3 separate regions of the Homo sapiens genome follow, and regions 1 and 2 are each linked to region 3. The links are contacts of gene promoters, found by promoter capture Hi-C in human tissues and cell types (Jung and others, 2019). All regions are on one chromosome and are shown on one strand. Each heading gives the region's core, a stretch centred on a gene start or on the middle of the fragment in contact. The rest is flanking DNA. Distances are from core to core; before and after follow the strand shown. Region 1 overlaps LRP6 (LDL receptor related protein 6). Region 2 overlaps DUSP16 (dual specificity phosphatase 16). Region 3 holds the start of MANSC1 (MANSC domain containing 1).

Region 1 (3,928 bases), core at 403-2,902, 220 kb after region 3:
TGTTCCTTGGTCTCAGGCAACTAGACAGCCTGAAGGCCAGCAGCATAGGGGATTTGAGAGCTGAGGCTTATCTTTAGCTTCCAGTTTTCATTCATCAGGCCTAAATGTCACTATTCAAATCTAAAATCTAACATGTGCTCAGAGCTGATTTTGGCTTCTTCACCATTCCAGGTAAAACATTTGATGACTTTTCTAGGTTTATCCCTTCTGGTCATAAATTTTTTCCCGAAATCTTGGAATACCGTTGTTCATTTGTATGGTATATAGAATGAAGTAGAATGGATTTTATCTGTTTATTTATTTAAAGCTTCTTAATGGTGTTTAAATCTGTACTTCATTTACCATCTTTGTTTCTATCTGTTTACAATTACACTTTCCAACCTATTGTTTTATTTCTGTCTTCATTTAAGGGTAGTTCATTTTGATTCCTAATGATGACATTTATTTCATATGTCTTCAGGGCGTGGTATGTATGTACTCATAAAAAAGAAAAGTGTTTATGAATTATCTTCATTAGGCTTATAGCTTCACATCCTATTAGCAAGCCCTCTTTTGATTACTATTTTGAATATACAGTTGTTTTTCTATTAAATAACCATACTGCATTCTTCATTGTAGATCCGACTGAAGAACCAGCACCACAGGCCACCAATACAGTTGGTTCTGTTATTGGCGTAATTGTCACCATTTTTGTGTCTGGAACTGTATACTTTATCTGCCAGAGGATGTTGTGTCCACGTATGAAGGGAGATGGGGAAACTATGACTAATGACTATGTAGTTCATGGACCAGCTTCTGTGCCTCTTGGTTATGTGCCACACCCAAGTTCTTTGTCAGGATCTCTTCCAGGTGAGTCAGGATGGATCCATTGAGAATCAAGTCTTTGGTCCTGCAAGACTGCCAGTTTCCATTGTGGAAAAGAATACTACCTAGAGTCTGTCTGAAACCATATTACTCTGAGTTTAAACAATTATAAGGACAAACGTTCTTTTTTACTATTAGCACCTTCTCTTTACACAGAAGGCCTTAGATATGGTTTGGTAGAAATTGTCAAAGCATATAAAGCAAATACATATGCAAGCTCTAAGCCTCTCTGACTGCAATTCTGGATGCATGCTACGGAAGGTGAATCAGCCAGTCATTTAGTGAAAGAGTTGTAAACCACAGGTTAAGTTCACCACCAGGGAACTCTAGTACTATGGAGCCCATGAATAAAAGGAGGCCAAAAATTATATAAGATTCCCTTCAGCCAACAAAGATTTGTAAATAGCTGGATGATAGAAGGGAGAATATGTCTTAAGTTTTCTCCTGACTTCATGTGCTAATAAGGGACAAAGGGCTAGTTTAGGCATAGCTGAGTAGCCAGAAGTTTTAAGCTTGGGTAGGCCGTGTTGCTCTAGGGAACTGGCCTTCTTTTTAATGTTTTCTGGTGCCCTTAGTTAAAAGACGCCTTCCTTTTAATGAATATGGAGAAGGCGGTGCCTTGCAAAAACCCTCTGAAAATAGGAACTTACTATGGGTGTAACTCTTAAGTAGACAAACATGGTTTTTAAACTGTTAATGGTAGTGTTGCTTTGTTGCCATACCTATTTTCAGTTAGTGGAATTTGGGAAGCTTCTTGGAAAAAATAGAATTTTTTCTTTAGCACTGGTAGTTTTGATTCTAGCAACATTTATATTCATTAGATGAAAAAATATTCTTTCATATGTTGTTTGTGCCCTAAAAATGTTTTTTTGTTTTCTTTTGAGCAAGTCTGGTATTTAATATGCCCTGCCTCACAACCTCTACCCTTTACAATCCTTTCAAATCCTCCAAGAGGTTGAAAAGCCCTTATTTTAAATAGCTCTGCTTCTACCAGGGGAGGGAGAAGGTGGGAGCTATTCTTGGCCTTGTTCTAGGCCAGCTCTTTCAATGGAAGCATTGACTTCTAGAAAACGTTCATTTCCTTTCTCCATTAAATGTTTTCAATTATAGGAAAAGAGTGTAAGTTATTTTAAAATCAGACTACTTCACTGTTGATATTTGTAATCCTACTGTTGAATGAAATTGCTTGATACATTTTTATATATCATACTCATCTTCAGTTTTTAACCTCCTTTTATTTTAGGAATGTCTCGAGGTAAATCAATGATCAGCTCCCTCAGTATCATGGGGGGAAGCAGTGGACCCCCCTATGACCGAGCCCATGTTACAGGAGCATCATCAAGTAGTTCTTCAAGCACCAAAGGCACTTACTTCCCTGCAGTAAGTAGTCTGTTTTCCTTTGAATGCGACATACATAAGATCTTAGATTTTTTAACTCATTTAAATGTGGGTGATCAGTGATAGTAATGTAAAAGTAGTTTTTGAATGTAAAATTTAGGCATAAAAGGCTCAAAGGACTTACCACACACCACCATCCATGCTTATAAATCTTTTAAGTTACTGTGTAGTAACCAGAATACTTGAAAGCACTGGGCATTAATTTCACATTTCAAGTAAAAGTAGAACTACTGAATGGTACCTATTGAGGGATTAGGGCCTTCATTTTATGACTTCCCAAAAGAGGAAGCACACCTGGAATTTCTCCTAAATCAATAATTTTTCTCTAAATACTTACTATTTTAAATAACCAGGACCTAAATGTACTGACCAATGATTTTTAGGTTACAGATTTTCGTTTTTGTCACTTTGCACTTTTTAGCCATGATGAGGTCTTAGGGAATGAGGAAGCCATAGTCCCAAAGTACTGTTTGAGGTCAATTCTTTGGAAAAGAAGAATTGTGCTAATAGTGTATTGTAAAGAAACACTAATAGAGATGAAGGAAGAAAAGTTGAAAGAAAGTCTGATAGTTTCTATGTTGTTATTTTAATATTTTAATTATTTTTTTCTTTTAGATTTTGAACCCTCCACCATCCCCAGCCACAGAGCGATCACATTACACTATGGAATTTGGATATTCTTCAAACAGTCCTTCCACTCATAGGTCATACAGGTAATACACATCCTTCTCTAAAATAAGGTGCAGTATTTATTGAAAGTGTTTCAGTTGTGGACCTGATATAGCCCCAAATGAGTAGACGATGGTCACCAGAGAGAGACTAGTCATCTTATCTTGATAGTACTGACATTGCCTCTACCACAAATCCTTTCCTTTCAGGACGTTATACTTTTTTTTTAATTTTTTGAGATGGATTTCGCTCTTGTTGCCCAGGCTGGAGTGTAATGGCATGATCTCAGCTCACTGCAACCTCCGCCTCCCAGGTTCAAGCGATTCTCCTGCCTCAGCCTCTCAAATAGCTGGGATTACAGACCTGCGCTACCACGCCCAGCTAATTTTGTATTTTTAGTAGAAACGTGGTTTCACCATGTTGGCCAGGCTGGTCTCGAACTCCTGATCTCAGGTGATCCGCCTGCCTTGGCCTCCCAAAGTGCTGGGATTACAGGTGTGAGCCACCACACCTGGCCTATACTTTTTTTTTTTTTTAAGAGAGTCACAAATGCTGGCTTTTATAATAATAAAATACAGCCTCAGGCTTTGGCAGTATTCTAAGGAGGAATTACCCACCAAAGTGACTGGTTTCAAAATAGTTTGATATTCTAAGAATGAAATATTGGGATAAGATTGGTTCATAGAATTGAGAGTTTAAAACAGCAACATACTCAGAGCACAGAATTTTAGAAAAGTTGAGAGAAATGTAAGTTCAGCCATTGCTTGCATATGCTATTACAATTTGGAGTGAAAGATTTCTCATGTAGTTGCATGGAATAAAGAAAGATTGAAATAAATAAAGTGTATTTGTAAGCCAAAAAAGAGAAAATTATTCCTTTTTGCTAATTTATGAGTCTATAAAGTGTGTTGAGCAGGTCAAGTACTGTTGTGTCAGCTTCCACTTCTATGTTCCTTGAAAGGCCAACAGACCATCAGTAGCTTGAGAGTTTCTATCT
Region 2 (4,113 bases), core at 914-3,413, 150 kb before region 3:
GCTGGGATTACAGGCGTGAGCCACCGTGCCTGGCCTATTAGTCTTTTTTTTTTTTTTAAATGAAGTGCCACCAAAATATGTTAGAAGCATGTCACAGAAATTTTCTTGGGAGAATCATAATGTTTCCCATTTAAAATGCTGGGCTTTTTATATTATTGCATTTAACCCTCATAATAGGATTAGGAGATACATTTGCCCTGAGCTAAGTCACTTACCCGAGATTATGTCATGGACTTCAGAGCTAGTCAGTGGCACAGATCAAATGTAAACCGAGGCTGCTGTAATTTTAAGTCCCATGCTTATATTACACCAAAAATGCCCATCTTCTGGAAAAAGGAATTCTCTATAGCAGGCTGTTACGAAGGACTGAAATCTTAAGTCTATTGAGTCACAATGGAGAATTTCTTTCCCTGTTTTTTCTGCAACATCATCTATACCAGTACCGTCCAACAGAAATATAATGCAAGTCACATACATAATTTAAATTTTTCCAGTGGCCTTTAAAAGTAAAGAAATGGGCAAAACTAATTTTAATGTTTAAAAATAACATATTTAACCTAGTATATCTAAAATAGTATTTCAACATGCAATCAGTATACAAAATTACTGAGATATTTTACAGTCTCTTTTTGTACTGAGTCTTTAAAATCTGGTGTGTATTTTATACTTACAGCACATCTCAATTTGGAGTAGTCACATTTTAGGTGCTCAGTAGCCATGTGTGGCTTGTGGCTGCTACCTTATTGGACAGTCTAGGTCTCAGCATGTATTAATTTTTACTGATGTTTTAAAGACATGGTTCTTTTGTAGAAGACCATAAGAGGTCATCGGTACCAAAAACATACTTTTATTTTCCTTTTCCCTCACAACTGTACTTTGTTTCTCAGAGTGTGTTCTTTCATCCTCTAGTCTTTGTACTAGAGCTGAAATGGGAGCAGCTTATTGTACTAAATAAAAGTCATCTGCTGATGCCTAGTTCATATTTGAAATGAGTGGGATTTGAGAAAGAATCTCTGGTTACTCTGTGAAAGACAAAAGTTCTTGATTGCTTTTCTCTCTTATCAGTTACAATTTCAAATGCAGACTTTTGTTCACATTTAAATATATGCAGCATATGACTGACTTACCTATTGGGAGTAGTTATTAAGCAGAACTGTATCTGAGGTGAACCACTGCAGCTTCTTTTCTAAAGGAGCTCTGCTGCCTGCTCCTTCTCCATTTAAATAATCTGCTGTCAACATTTTTTGTATAGCTTCTTATTTCAGCCTCTTAACATGCAAAATTGGTTTTCCTAGGCTTTCTTATTGTTCTGCCTGGTACACAGTAGGAAGACTGACTGCTACATTCTCTGTTGTTTTCTTAGAAGAGTTAGGCAACAAATAGCCTAAACACAATATAGGCTAAGAATGCTTTCAGAGTTTCCAGTGGAAATATATGATCTAGGAACACAAAAGCGTGTCAAAATTATCAATAAAATATTTCTTCAATGTCTATGATGTCACTCTATGTAGAACACCATACAGTGTTCAAGTTGGTTAGACAAGACCTATTCATTAAACAACAATTGACATGACAAGGTGACTACAGTGTCCCTCCCAGTGTGGAAGCAGCACGGCATGATGGTTGAGAGCCAGCTTTAGGGGTGGACAGTTTTGCATCCCAGTTCTCCACCTTACCAGCCATATCACTTCAGCTGTTACTGCATCTCAGTCTCTTTACCTACACGCCACAATAACTCCGGCCTCCTGGTGTTCATGTAACATTCAAATGAAATGGCATATGCCAAGCACAGTTCCTGGTTTATAGGGACACTTGTCATTGTCATCTTAGGGTAGACTATGCAGCCTACTAGGGTGAGTAGTAGATACAGTGTGTTTTGTCGTTTGAGGAAGGCTTGATGGAGTTAAGTAGGACTTGAGGCCAGTTTTGAAGGCAAATGGATGGGCAAATGCAAAATTAGTCATGGAATTGACTTCAGAAAGAAAAATTACAATTCTTTTATCTAGAATTGAAATGCCTGTGGTTATTTAATGAGATCTCTGTCCTCAGCCTCACTGAACAGAGAGAATTTGACCAAACAGAGCAGTTTCATTAAGGCCATATATTAATCTGTTCTCTCTGTACTACTTCACAGTCTGCATCAAAGGATCATAGAACTCATATTTAGAAATTAGTCTGACTGCAGGAGAAAGCTTATTTCAGGGTTAGGAGAGAGAAAGTTTTCAAGGGAGAAAAGTTGTGAATGGAAATCATAATAATAAAATGAAATTTGTCTTGGTTTACAGATAATCATTTTTGAAAGTTTACTCAACTGTGTGTTGAAACTAGAATCACTATTTAAATCCTTAGGGGGAGTATGTCTTCACTTTGCAGATGAACCTCGCCTGCTGTATTCAATGTAATTTCCCTACTTAACACCAATTAGGAGAAAAGACAGTTTGGATTAGTGAAAAATATACATCATGGGCTTTTTTTTTTTTTTTTTTTTGTAATGGCTTTACTGAGATATAATTCATATACCATACAATTTACAAGCAATTTTTACAACAAGATAAAATAAGAGAACTAACATTTCAGGGGACCCTATATTATGTGTCAGGCACTTTATTATCCTCATACTGGCTTTACAAAATACACATCATTAGCCTTATTTTACAGGTGAGGAAATTAAAGCTACCGGAGGTTAGGTAACCTTCCCAAGATCACCCAGGCGATGAGTGGTAATGCGCTGGGCTGTGCTCTGGTTTTTCTGGGGCCGTTACCCATGTACTTTACTTTATTCCGTGCCACACTGAGATTCCACACTAACCACTAATGAATTGTTTCCAAGAAGAGATCCTTTAGGAGTTTGCTTTAATAAATCGATCAGTCTTCTCAGTATGGCATTTGATAAAGTTCTGTAGCTTGGCAGTAAAACTCTTTAGCTTGATATTTAAGACCTTCCAGGACCTAATACCACCTTTTTAGTTCTTACCTCTCCTGTTCTCTTCCTCTGCTCATCCTCTTTCAATGTCTGGACACACTCACCTAGTGAGTGCACCCCAGATATTTCTGTCCTGTCCTTGGTCTTCATTCATTTTCTATACTCCATCTGGAATGCCTCTACCGCCATCTGAGCTTCAGCTGACAATTTTAGTTCCCATTATAAATAGTCTTCTCAGAATCCTTCCCTTTGGTTTTACTCCTGTTTTCCACTGCCATTTTGTTTATCCTGCTACATTATATTCATCGGATACCTCTTTGTATCATCATTATTCGTGCAACTGTCTTACAGTTGCTAGTAGACTATTCATCCCTCAGTGAGAACACTTGCTTTTTTATGCCCCAGAATACCTTGATGCATAGTAAGCCCTTGGTGATTATTTTTCAAAATAAATAGTTATATCCTAATTTGTAACCCATGCAACTTGTATGAAATGTACATGTCCTTAAACATTAAGTAAACACACCTTCTGTTAATTTACTCAGAAAACCTTCTGTTAATGAATTTGAGAATCTAAAATTTTCAACCCAGGAAAAACAGTCTTTTTTAAATTATGAAATGAATGTAAGTTAATGATATTTTACAGTGACTTGTAAAATGAAAATGTGCAAGGAACATATATGAAGGTTTCTCATTAGAAGATGCTAATAAACCAGTTACTAGATACTGATTTTAGTCAGCTTCAGGGATAAGGGTTCGTTCATGTATTCGCCCAACAAATGTTTATTGAGCCTCTACCATGTGCCAAACAGTGTTCTAGGTGCTGGGGGTACACCAGGAAATGAGACAATAATCTCTGCTTTCATTAGCTTACATCCTAGGAGAAAGAAACTTGATAGGAAGCATAATAAATAGGTAAATTACATAGTATAGTACAGTATGAGTGCTATGAAGAAAACAGGGTAAGAGGGCTGGGGATTACCTGTGAGGTGTGGGTTGTAATTAAATGGGTGATCAAAGTGGCCTAATTGAGATAGAGGCATTTGAACAAACACTCAAAGGAGGTCAAAGAGTAAGCCATTTGAATATCTGGAGGAAGAGCAGTACAGGCAGAAGAAGCCACCAAGGCAAAGCACATGTGGTATGCTAAAGGAAGAGCGAGGCCAGTGTGGCTGGAGCAGAGTGAGCAT
Region 3 (4,019 bases), core at 902-3,401:
TACTAAAAATACAAAAATTAGCTGGGCATGGTGGCATGAGCCTGTAATCTCAGCTACTCAGGAGACTGAAGCAGGAGAATTGCTTGAACCTGGGAGGCAGAAGTTGCAGTGAGCTGAGATCGTGCCACTGCACTCCAGCCTGGGCAACAGAGCGAGACTCCATCTCAAAATTAAAAAAAAAAAAAAAATTAAGAACATTAGCTGGGTGTGGTGTGCGTTTGTGGTCCCAGCTACTCAAGAGACTGAGGCAAAAGAATCACTTGAGCCCAGGTGGTCAAAGCTGCAGTGAGTCGTGATTGTGCCATTGCACTCCAGTGTGGGCAACAGAGCGAGACCCTGTCTAAAAAAATGAATAAATAAACAATGATATTTATAAATTAAACATATATAATAGAAAATATTTCTTTAATCATTATTTTAATCAATATCCTTTGTTCACTGTCATAACTGAAAAAATAACATATCACTTCAATGAAAACAGGTTCAGGCCGGGCACAGTGGCTCACGCCTGTAATCCTAGCACTTTGGGACGCCGAGGCGGGCGGATTGCCTGAGCTCAGGAGTTCGAGACCAGCCTGGGCAACACGGTGAAACCCCATCTCTACTAAAATAGAAAAAAATTAGCTGGGCGTGGCGGCATGTGCCTGTAGTCCCAGCTACTCAGGAGTCTGAGGCAAAAGAATTGCTATAACCCGGGAGGTGGAGGTTGCAGTGAGCCGAGATCACACCACTGCACTCCAGCCTGGGCAACACAGCGAGACTCCGTCTCTAAAAACAAACAAAACACAAAACAAAACAAAAAAAGAAACAGGTTCATTGTATTAAAGCACCGAATACGAAGTTTCTAATAATGGAAAGGTCTACTTTGTAACTAGCATGGATTACCCCATGTAGAGAGATTCAAAAACTGTGATAGCTCTACACCCTGAACCCTGAAGTGTATCAGATGATAAAAGATAAAACACACTTGCAGATCAGTCCCTTGTTGCATCAGGAAAATCACTGCAATGGGAAATTACTCTGGTGTTTACTTTTCTTTGGTAACTCTTTCAAACCTAGCTTTAGCAACATTGTAATTCAAGAGTCATCCTTTGGTTACAAGTAGAGTTAGTTTCACACAATGGACCTTTGTTCACAAGCATTCTCAGTCAACCTAATCCTCCTGTAGTTATTGGTTAAGACTAGGGTGTGTAGCTGTTGGCCGTACAGGCCTAGACTTAACTTGCAATTGCATAGCGCTTCAGGTCTGCAAGCTCTTTCAAAACAGAGGTGAAGATACTGTCAAAGGTTAGACCATATGGCAAACTAAGTGTCAATGGTTTAGTAACGTTGCATTTGTGTGTGTGTTTATGGAGGTGGGGATGGGGCCAGCAGTAATTTAGAAACTTCCACAACCTATGCCCTATGCAGTTCTTTTCCATTCATTCAGTCAACAAAAATATTTTAGTTAAATATTTACTGAGCACCTATTGTGTACCAGGCACTATGCTAAGTGTTAGGGATACAGTTTTAATATATGTTACAGACACCAGCATTTTCACCATTATTATCCTATCTACAAACAATAAATCCCGCAGAAAGCCAAATACCTTCCCTGAAGTTTGTCTTGCAGATAATATTTAACTCAAGAATTGCCATCTTTAATTGAGGACTCCATCCTCCAATTATGGAAAGAGGATTCTCAGAACTATGCCCCCAATAGGATGCACTATAAGCCCTTGAACATCAAAAAACTGCTCTCAGTGGTTGCCTCTGAGGAGGGAGACTAGGAGACTGGGGCACGGGGGTGAGGGGTAGACTTGTCTCTGTGTCTATTTTTGTACTGTTTGACATTTTCCCCATGTGCATTTATTTTAACTTGCGCGGGCCGCGAGGCAAGGCTCACCTGCAGACCCTCGGGCCACCAGCAGGGAGGCACGCACTCCCCCTCGCAGCGCGCCCAGCCCGGGGTCAGCGGTGTGGCTGAGCTGGGGGGGAGCGCGGGGCGGTGGGGGGAGCCACCTCCCTGCGGGGCTCAGCGCTGGGGCCGGGAGCCCGGAGCCTCCGCGGGGAGGGACGCGCTAATGTTGCCGGGAAGCAGCTCCGGGTTGCAGGGCAGGAACGTGCCCTTCCCCCGCGGCAAACTTGCCGTCGCTGCGACGGAAGCAGGAACTTGCTAACCACAAAACCCGCCAGGCCGGTGCGGGAGCTGCGGAGCATCCGCTGCGGTCCTCGCCGAGACCCCCGCGCGGATTCGCCGGTCCTTCCCGCGGGCGCGACAGAGCTGTCCTCGCACCTGGATGGCAGCAGGGGCGCCGGGGTCCTCTCGACGCCAGGTAAAGGGGTCTCCCCAATACCCACCCCCGACCGGCCGCAGGCGACGTCGCTACCTGCGGAGAGAGTCGGTCCCCTCCTTTCCAGGGGCCGAGGCTCCTTCACCCACACCCGAGCATCCAAAGGACCAGCTGGGGCCAATAAGGGCTGACCAGGATCCTTGAGTCGCTGCAGTATTCCAAAGGGGACCTCTAGGCGGGCTCAAGGCACCTGCCATAAATGGCTCTGGCTCTGCGTTGACATCAGAAGGAGAGGCAGAAGAATAGCTCAGTAGGCAACATGCATTTCCTCAAAGGAAGAGAAAATGTTCCCTGTTTTCTTGTCGTTGACTCTGTATTCATTATTGAAACTGCTAATTGTCTAATTCTCTGTAGAGTGTGTGTGTGTATACAGTTATAAGCATCTTGGTAAATTATAGTGTGCTGTAAGACGATTTCCAATATTTGAACTAATTACGTGCGAGTAAGTTTTAGCGACTCTTGTATGCAGACGTTAAAACTCAGGGGCATCCTCTCTCACCCGCCTGTATCCTTTTACCCCGTCTTTCAACAAGATTCAACTCGACTTCAGGCCCTTAAAGCCTAAATAATAATGGATTAGAAAACGTCGCTAACCTAATATTGCTGAGCCTCTTTAATGATATAAAACTCTTAAACACTTCTCTCAATGCTGCATACTGAAAACAACTCCTGCCCCATCTCCTTACATAGTTCAGGTTTCTTTGCAAAAGCTTGAAAAGAGGCTACATTAGAATCCATTCAAAATAAAGTATTGGCCTGGTTTTCTCTTGATTCCCTAGAGGCTTGCAAAATATGGCAGCGTATTAAGTACCTTGGCCAGAATTATTAACCTGGGGAGTCCACGATAAGGTATCCATGGATAGAATTCAGGATGTCTGTGAACTTGAGTGGAAAAAATTATTATTTCACCGACTTCTGAAATGGAATGTAGGCAAAAGCCACAGTAGTATTAGCAGTAGCTATGATTTGCCCCCTGTAAATATTGCCGATATCTTTATATCACATGACTTGTTGCACGTTTCAAAATATTATCTATACTCAATACCACGTCAAAATTATGGCAGTTATTAGATGACCACTTGTTACTTAATAGGTTAATAAAGAAGCACATATTATGTCCCACAACTTTTTGTAAGTTTTAACTAAAATGAGGATAATAATGGGATCTGTAAAGATTAAATGACATGATATATATAAAGTGCTTAGCATAGAAACTGGCATTTTAGACGCAATAAATGTTACTATTTTACTGTATACAGAATTTTGACAAACAGCAAGAAAAGTATTAGACTTGTGTTTTATTACCATATACTGGTTTGTTTCTGGGTTTTTTTTTTTTTTTGGTTTTACCTTTTTTTAAAACTAAAAGTCCATAGTTCACATAATGTTCACTCTGTGTGTTTTACATTTCTATGGGTTTTGACAGATGTTCAATAACATGTATCCTCCATTACAGTGTTATACAGAATAGTCTCAATGCCCCAAATATCCCTTGCACTCCACCGATTCATCCTCCCACTCCTGTTCTCCTGGTGACCACTGGCCTTCTTACTGCCGCTGTAGTTTGCCTTTTTTAGAACGTCATACAGTTAGATTCATATCTGTTCAGACTGGCTTCTTTGACTTAGGAATATGCAGTTAAGATTCCTCCATGTCTTTTTGTGGCTTGATAGTTCATTTATTTTT

What was found. The method cuts DNA at HindIII sites, captures the fragments that hold promoters and counts their contacts. A contact is called where the count stands out against the background at its distance.
Region 1: a contact is called between a fragment that was not itself captured here and the fragment with the promoter of MANSC1 in region 3, in 1 of the 25 tissues and cell types used here (hippocampus).
Region 2: a contact is called between a fragment that was not itself captured here and the fragment with the promoter of MANSC1 in region 3, in 1 of the 25 tissues and cell types used here (hippocampus).

Annotation. Positions count from the first base shown.
Region 1 is chr12:12,123,612-12,127,539 of GRCh38, reverse strand. It overlaps LRP6 (LDL receptor related protein 6), which reads left to right. Exons shown (of 23, transcript NM_002336.3): 20 at 619-849; 21 at 2,108-2,244; 22 at 2,878-2,975. Among named protein-coding and RNA genes, the nearest start is that of MIR1244-4, 14 kb to the right of the region's middle. The HindIII fragment of the contact is 3,485 bases long and covers 1-3,394 here.
Region 2 is chr12:12,493,612-12,497,724 of GRCh38, reverse strand. All of the region lies in intron 4 of DUSP16 (dual specificity phosphatase 16), which reads left to right. Among named protein-coding and RNA genes, the nearest start is that of DUSP16, 67 kb to the left of the region's middle. The HindIII fragment of the contact is 4,009 bases long and covers 159-4,113 here.
Region 3 is chr12:12,348,374-12,352,392 of GRCh38, reverse strand. It overlaps MANSC1 (MANSC domain containing 1), which reads left to right and starts at 2,151. Exons shown (of 4, transcript NM_018050.4): 1 at 2,151-2,315. RefSeq lists a silencer at 1,841-2,150. The HindIII fragment of the contact is 3,549 bases long and covers 457-4,005 here.